Linked DNA regions of Homo sapiens: region 2 is linked to region 1. Evidence: promoter capture Hi-C in 16 types of primary human blood cells and fetal thymus (Javierre and others, 2016). All regions are on one chromosome and are shown on one strand. The core of a region is centred on a gene start or on the middle of the fragment in contact, and the rest is flanking DNA. Distances in the headings are between cores, read along the strand shown. Region 1 holds the start of SIK2 (salt inducible kinase 2). Region 2 overlaps FDX1 (ferredoxin 1).

Region 1 (4,439 bases), core at 658-3,157:
AGTTTTGTAGAACCTCTCTATAACTCACAATTTGTTTGTTTTTAGAAAGTCATTAAGCAAGGACTCATAAAACATGCATTTAAAATGCCTTCTTTTATGTAACTTAAAGGGAAATGGCATGGCATAGGCCATGGCTCTTCAGAGGAATGGAACCAATTTCTTCATTTTAAAAAATGCTGGGATCAGATTAAGATTTAACAATATCACTATAGTCAAGTTATCATTATCATTACAAACAATCTAAATTGCTAACTGGTAAATCTGTGAGAAGAAAATATCTGACCTTGGTCCTGATTCTAAAAGATAAGTCAGATTTGGACTGGTTCAGGACCAGCAGGGGAAGGCAAAAAGTAAAGAAGACAGAATGACATATACCCCTTCCTTTTGGAAACGGGATTAAGCAAAACTTCTAAGTACAACTGCAACTCCAAAAATCACTCACGTTTGCAAGTGCCCTTCGCCTTACATAAGTCATTCTGAAAAGAAGTCCTACTTTATTCTACACTCAAACTCCAGTACATTCGTACTAACAAGGGAAAAAGCAGAATAGGACCAAAACTGGAGGGCAAACAAACAGGAAAAGGATGAAACTCCAGGAGGAACTACAATAAGGCAGAGTAGAGTACGTCAAAACCACTAGGTTTTATTCTAAAGAATGGTTTTGTTTCTACCGTTCTTCTAAGGTATTTAATTTGCACGTCTTAAAATAGAGACCCTGAGGAGAGCAGCTTGAGGCAGTGGAAGGAAGGGGGGCGGGTTAGGTAAGAACAGAGACTTGTGAGAGAGTATGTGCGGTGCATTAGAATGTGCAATGAAGAGGGTGCAGGATTCACCGTCAGGAAGCAGTTGAGGGCTTTATGAGTAGAGGCAGAATCTGATATGGTTTAAAGAATGCGTATTACAGCCAGAATGCACACCTGGTACAGTGACAACCCTAGACAAGTAGAAGACCAATCCACCCACCGTGCAAATGCAGAGATGACCATTTTAACCAGTTCTATTGTCTGGGGCATTAAATGGAAATGCCCCAGGCAAGAGATCAAGCTAGCCAGACACCAAATCAGAGACACCCTGGGCCAAAAGGAAGGAGAGGAGATGGACAGTGGCCGTGGGGGTATTCCCAGCCATGGGGCCCTTCCTCGTCGGGCAGGGGAGGGGCGCCGGGGTCACGGGGGCCGCACGATCCCCCATCCGCGGAGCCCAAGCGCAGGCGGTCCCCTCCTCGGGCCGGCGACGTCTCTCACGGCGCAGCCTGGGAACACCGAGACTTCCCCTCCCACCCCACCCCCAGCCGAAAGCAGGGAAGACGCGGAACTTGGGCTCCGGAGCGGAGGCCACAGACCAGGTCACGGCCCGGGTGGGGGGCTCTGGGCGAAATTCCGGGTGGCCACCGGGGGTGGCGTAGGGGAAAGCAAAGCCCCGGCTGGTTGCGTTTCCAGTCGGACGACACTCGGGTCCGGGTGCCCGGGCCCGATCCCTTCGCTGCTCACCGACCCCCTGCACCTCCTGGGTCCTCACAGTCCCAGGCCCGCTCGCCTCCGCCAGTGAGGCGGCCTCTCGGGTCTCCCCGGTCCCACCACTGCGGCCGCCCCTCTCGGTAAGCAGCTCCTCTCCCGAACCCTCGCCTCGGACGCTCCCGCCGAGCCCCGGGCCGCACCTCCGTCTTGGTGATCCGGTGCCGCCCCAGCTTCACCACAGCGAAGTTGCCCTTGCCCAGCGTGCCCTCGATGTCGTAGAACCCCACCCGGACCGGCCCGCGCTGCAAGTGCCTCGGGCCATCCGCCATGACCATGCTGGGCCCCGCTGCTAGACACGGCGGACAGGAGCGCGGGCGGGCGGGAGGGTTGGCAGCGCGGCTTGGCTTGGGCGACGGCCGCTCCGCTTGCTCCTTCGCTCCTTCGCTCCTTCCCTCCCGCTCCCCAGGGCCCAGCCAGGCGCGCGCCGCCGCTGACGTGCGCCGACGTCAGGGGGCCGGGGCAGGGGGGCGGGGGCGGGCCCGAGCCTGGATTGGTCACCATGGCGACCGAAGCACCGCCGACGTCGGCTGCTGGAGAGTGGGGGACGGCGCACGGGGAGGGGCGCGAGCCTGGCCGGCGCGCTCCTTCCGGGCTCAGACGCCCTCCCCTCGCCCCTCCGCCTCACCGCTGCCAGGGGCGGGGTCGCTGCTCGGCCCGCTCCGTTCCTCGGCCTTCCAGGCGAAGGGCAAGAGCGAGCCCTGGCGGACCGTGCGGAGGGGTGCAGAGACCTGGATGCGGCCTGCGATCTCCTTCCCCGCCCCGGCGTTCTCCGCCCACCCGGGGTCCTTCCCGCCAAAACCTCTCACCTACAAGTACAGCGCGTCCTAAATTTGGCACCGGCAAAGAACTGTGGCTGAGCAATGCGTTGCTCACAGGCTCCTTTCTTTGTGTCCTTTTCTCTTCTCGTTGCTATATATAATAAAACCCTCCACGTTTTGATGTCTCCGAGGAGTCATTCTGACAGCAGTGCAGTCGCTTATAGACTCACAGAATGTCAATGTCAGCGCTGAAGAGATCTTGGAGATCACTTAATCCAGAGATTTGGAGCCTCATGTGAGCTTCAGAGTTTGGAACCCCCTAAAACACAGGCCAGTTTTTGCTTATGTGAGCATGTCTCTGGGGAGATGGACCCGTAGCTTCTGTCAGATTCCCAAACGCGTTGGTGACTCTGAAAAAGTTTAGAAATATTTCTCTAATCCAATTTTTTTCCCCAAAGGACGAAGAAGACCTCAAGGAATAAAGGGAATTGCCTAGGTCACACAGGCAATAGTCGAGGTAGGATTATAAATCACACCACGCTTCCAAATGTGACTCAAGGAAACAGGGACAGTGACACCTCACTATTTTGAGATGTATCATATGCCTTTATATCTTGGTTTCTAAATACCATTCTCCACCTAAAGGAGCCAGACTCCGTGGCGAGATGGCTCATTCGAGGGCAGAGACAGGGAAAGTATAAAATGCCCTTGAAAGATCCTGCTCCTTAAAGCAAGGAGATTTCTTGGCTATGTCAAGGAAGATATGTCAAAAGAAAGCAGATGGCTCGAAGGTGCTCCCCCCTTACCAAATCTGAGACAGTTTGAGTATCAGGAATAAATAATGGGCCGGGCTTAGTGGCTTACGCCTGTAATCCCAGCACTTTGGGAGGCTGAGGCGGGTGGATCACCTGAGGTCAGGAGTTCAAGACTAGCCTGTGTGAAACCCCATCTCTACTAAAAATGCAAAAATTAGCCGGGCGTGGTAGTGGGCGCCTATAATCCCAGCTACTCGGGAGGCTGAGGCAGGGAGAATTGCTTGAACCAGGGAAGCAGAGGTTGCAGTGAGCCGAGATCGTGCCACTGCACTCCAGCCTGGGCGACAGAGCGAGACTCTGTCTCAGTAAATAAATAAATAAATAAATAAATATAGAAATTGATTCTAACACATTGAATTTTTTAAAAGAATCGTAGAGCATACTTACTTTTAAACAGAAAAATAAAGAGGGGAGAAGTGAAATGACGGTGGAATGCCAACTAATATATGTTAGAAGAAATGACAATTAGCAAATCATTTGGCAGCCATTACAGTAATAATGGATTCAGACAATTATCAATAGATGTTAAAATCATTGAATAAAATTTGGCTGGGGAACAAGATATTTGCACAGTCTTTGGATTTCTTATTCATGATAAAGGGTTAACAAGGGTACCTCTACAGTGGAGAAATCTGACCGACACTACCCTAACCAAATGATCAAAGTTAATGTCACCAATTATGTGATAAAATGACATGATGTGCCTCCAGATGTGAGGCACTGAGGTTACAATATCTCTTAAGTAGTATTCCTGTCAAAAATGCATATTATGATCTAGAAACATCAGAAAGATGCAAACTAAGAAACATTCTACTCAACAACTGACCTGTATCCTTAAAAAACATCAGTGTCATGAAAGTCAAAGAAAGGCTGAGGAACCATTCTAGATTTAAGGGATTTAAAAAGGCATGGCACTAAAGGCAACATGTGGTCTTGAAAAAACATGCTATAAAGGAATATTTCAGAACAACTACTGAAATTTGAATATGGATTACATATTAGATAAGATACTGTTTCAGTGTTAAACTTCTTGAATTTTATAATTGTACTGTGATTATAAGAGAGAGTATCCGTTATTAGGAGATACACACTAAACAATTAGGTATAAAATTTTTGGCCGGGCGTGGTGGCTCACACCTGTAATCCCAACACTTTGGCAGGCCGAGGTGGGCATATCACTTGAGGTCAGGAGTTCAAGACCAGCCTGGGTGGTGGTGCGCCTGTAATCCTAGCTACTCTGGAGGCTGAGGTGGGAGAATCGCTTGAACCTGGGAGGCGGAGGTTGCAGTGAGCCAAGATCATACCACTGCACTCTAGCCTGGGTGACAGAGTGAGACTCTAACAAAAAA
Region 2 (3,900 bases), core at 1-2,500, 1.2 Mb after region 1:
TGTAGTGACGGGGTGCCACCATGTTGCTCAAGCTGGTCTCAAATTCCTGGCCTCAAGCCATCTTCTCAACTTGGCCTCCTAAAACTCTGAGATTACAGGCCTGAGCCACCATGCCTAGCCGAAGGTATTTTCTTTTCTTTCCAAAGCTTATTTGGAAATCAAAGGCATATATATCTACCCACCTACCAGGTAATAAGCTCTACTACCTTACAGGAAATGGCAATGACTACCTGGTCAACGCCACCTGGTGGCCTCAGTATATGTCTCCCTAATAGTCACAGTTATAAAACATTTGGCAATTATTATCACTCATGAACTCTATTTTACTCTCATACAAGCCAGTGCAGTAGCTTGCACCTGTAACCCCAGTACTTCGAGAAGCTGAAGTGGGAAGATTGTTTGACGCCAGAAGTTTGAGACCAGCCTGGGCAACATGGCAAGATCCCATCTTTACAAAAAATAAAATAATTAGCCAGGTGTGGTGATGTGATCTGTAGTCCCAGCTAATTGGGAGGCTGAAACGGGAGGATCCCTTGAGCCCAGGAGGAGGAAGAGGCTGCAATGGGATATGATTGCACCACTGCACTCCAGCCTGGGCAACACAGCAAGACCCTGTCATTTAAAAAAGAAAAGGCCAAGTGTGGTGGCTCATACCTGTACTCCTAGCACTTTGGGAGGCCGAGGCAGGGGACTGCTTGAGCCCAGGAGTTTGAGACCAGCCTGAGCAACACAGAGAGACCCTATTGCTACAAAAAATAAAAATAAAAATGAGATGGTTGTAGGTGTATGAAAAATAAAAGGCATGGTGGTATTTGCCCATAGTACCAGCTACTCATGGGGCTGAGGTGGATCACCCGATCCCAGAAGTTCAGGGCTGCAGTGAGCCGTGATTACACCATTGCACTCTAACCTGGGCAACAGCTCAAGGCCCTGTCTCAAAAAAAAAAAAAAAAAAAAAAACAAAAAAAGTCATCACACAGCTCTCTGAAAAACATGAATGTGTCCATAAAAGACTAGACCAGGGTTGTAGTGAGCTTCTAAAAAGCAAATCATGGCCGAGCATGGTGACTCACGCCTGTAATTCCAACACTTTGGGAGGCCAAGGCGGGCGGATTACCTGAGGTCAGAAGTTCAAGACCAGCCTGGCCAACATGGCGAAACCCCGTCTCTACTAAAAATACAAAAATTAGGCATGGTGGTACATGCCTGTAATCCCAGCTACTCGGGAGGCTGAGGCAGGAGAATCGCTTGAACCCGGAAGGCAGAGGTTGCAGTGAGCCGAGATCAAACCACTGCACTCCAGCCCGGGTGGCAGAGTGAAACTCTGTCTCCAAAAAAAAAAAAAAAAAAATCAATAGGGCGATTGCTTTTCCAGTGCTACATAGAATACTACTGCTGAGAGATGTTGTTTAGTAGTTTTCTGCGTATTTGACATCTCATTTCAGTCCACATTGTATACTTACAAATCAAAGGGACTAGAAAAAGTTTATTTGTTTGAATCTGTAAGATAAATACCTCCTTACATGTTTTTTTAAGATAGTATGTTAACTATCAGCTAGCTGACTTAAATTTCCTTCACTTCTCACAAACATCCCTCCAAAATTTGAGAAGCCATTATACTAAAAACTAGATCCTTATTCCTCCACCATTGGTCATTTTAATTTTTACCTCACACTTGAAAAGATTCTCTTCAACTTAAAATAATGAGTTGTTATTCTTATTACTACCAGTAGATGGCAATAGCCCATCAAACAAATCTTTAAGTAAAACTCAGAATTAAATAATTTCAGAGCCATAACTATCTCGAAAGTTATCAAGTCCAGTGATCCCATTTCACAAATGAGGCAACTGAAGCCCCACTGGGATAATGCCCTCCCTAATATTATAACACTGGGAAAAAAAACAGGATTCTATTCATTAAAACTCATCAAAAGGGTGTGTGTGTGTGTACCAGAATGTTCCTCAAAAGGGCCTGCGCTCTCCAACTTCTTTTCACAGCCAAAACATGCTTTAAAACTAGTATTCCCACATATTATTCATAATTTTCAACATGAATAACTGCCATTTTTTTCAAAGTACAATGGCTGAGAATGAAAATACCCTAGAGGCAGGGAGGCCACTTTGGAGGTTATCAAAACAGCATAAACTAATCAGGGACAGAGAATGCAGTGACTTAACAGACATCCAGGAGGTAGACCAAAAGGTTTTAGTGACCATCTACATAAGATAAACTGAAAAGCGGAAAGAAAAACATTGGGATTTCCAGCTCACACAATTAGGTGGTACCATTTAACCTAGGTTTAAGACAGGAACCAAAGGAACTTTGGGGAAGACAGAAATAAGTTGAAGCTTAGACCTGCTGAATTTAATAATGAAAAAGCCAGATGAGAATGTCCAAACACCAGATGGCAATATGGGTATGGGTCTGAGCCCAGCAGAGAAGTCTAGAGATTTGACATCAACGAATGCCTGGTAGCTAAAGCTACAGGAAGCACATTAGAAAGAATTCCATCATTTATACACACTACTGAAAGCCAGAGGTTTCAGCGTTGCTGTTCTTCTGAAGCACTCTAGAGCTAAGCTTACAGCAAAGGAATTCGAAATCTCTTACATCAGCCTCCTCTTCTATAAAATTGGACAACATTAATCTTATAGTTCTGACAATGTATGCAAAATACGTAACACATAGTAGAATTCAACACACACTGATTAATAACTGTTATTTAAAGACCAAGCCCTTTTGCTAAGAAGCCCAACCTGTTGGTCTGTATTAAAGGTAAACAGCCCTACAAAAAACTGCCAAGTAAGAGTATTAACAGGTTTACCAAAGAAGAGGAGAGGAGGCGGAAACGAAAGAAAAATGTAATTCTTAAGTTGAAAGAGTATGGAACCTAAGAGTCAGAAGATGTAGACCCTATGCTGGGAGTGGTCACTCACGCCTGTAATCCCAATACTTTGGGAGGCTGAAGCAGGCAGATTACTTGAGGCCAGGGGTTCCAGACCAGGCTGGTCAACATAGTGAAATCTCATCTCTACTAAAACTACAAAACTTAGCCGAGTGTGGTGGCACGCGCCTGTAATCCCAGATATTCGGGTGGCTGAGGCACGAGAATCGCTTGAACCTGGGAGGTGTAGGCTGCAGTGAGCCATGATGGCACCACTGCACTCAGGTGAAGAGTACACCAACACCTCCAAAATCACCACTAAAGAACTAACCCATTAACCAAACACCACCTGTGCCCCCAAAACTACTGAAATTTTAAAAATAAATAGAAATTTAAAATTTTTTTAAAATCCGCAAAAACTTCTTGAGTTCTAGTCCTAGTTTTGCCAGCTACTTAATATGAAATTTTTATTCCCATTTATCTACCCTCCCTACCTCATAGAATTGTCTTAAGAGTCATACGAAACAATACACGTGAAAGATCTTTGCTACCTGAATCACTGCAAACCCCCTTGTGTCACGGTATTTTAGAGTAAAAGGAGTTTTTCTGACTCTCAATTACTGATAGCTTATCGAGTTGTTAAACTTCAAAGACAGAACTACAGTTTCTAGAACTGCTCTGTCTGTCTATAAGAACTTTGTGCCATAACAAAGATGTTCTACACATACTTGCAATGTCCAATACAGTAGCCACTAGCCACATGTGGCTACTGAGAACTCGAAATGTGGCTAGTGTAACTACGAGATTGAATCTTTAATTTTATTTACCTTTAATTATGTTAAACTTCAATAGCCACATGTGATTAGTAGTTACGGTAGTTACAGCACAAGTCTCATTAACACAGTAAGAACTGGAAAATCCAGTTGTAGCTCCAAAGTCTGTAAGAGGAATGATAAGACCATGAATAGAAATTGTGCCAATAAAGAGGGCAGCAGGATTATGAGGAAATAGACGT

The links. The method cuts DNA at HindIII sites, captures the fragments that hold promoters and counts their contacts. A CHiCAGO score of 5 or more calls a contact.
Region 2: a contact is called between a fragment that was not itself captured here and the fragment with the promoter of SIK2 in region 1, in 1 of 17 cell types (total B cells). The highest score is 5.5, in total B cells.

The regions. Positions count from the first base shown.
Region 1 is chr11:111,599,917-111,604,355 of GRCh38, reverse strand. It overlaps SIK2 (salt inducible kinase 2), which reads right to left and starts at 1,907. Exons shown (of 15, transcript NM_015191.3): 1 at 1,658-1,907. The coding sequence starts at 1,792. RefSeq lists silencers at 1,142-1,301, 1,852-2,291 and an enhancer at 2,382-2,521. The HindIII fragment of the contact is 10,147 bases long and covers 1-4,439 here.
Region 2 is chr11:110,431,786-110,435,685 of GRCh38, reverse strand. The region is part of intron 1 of FDX1 (ferredoxin 1); the gene reads right to left. Among named protein-coding and RNA genes, the nearest start is that of FDX1, 3.8 kb to the right of the region's middle. The HindIII fragment of the contact is 2,203 bases long and covers 149-2,351 here.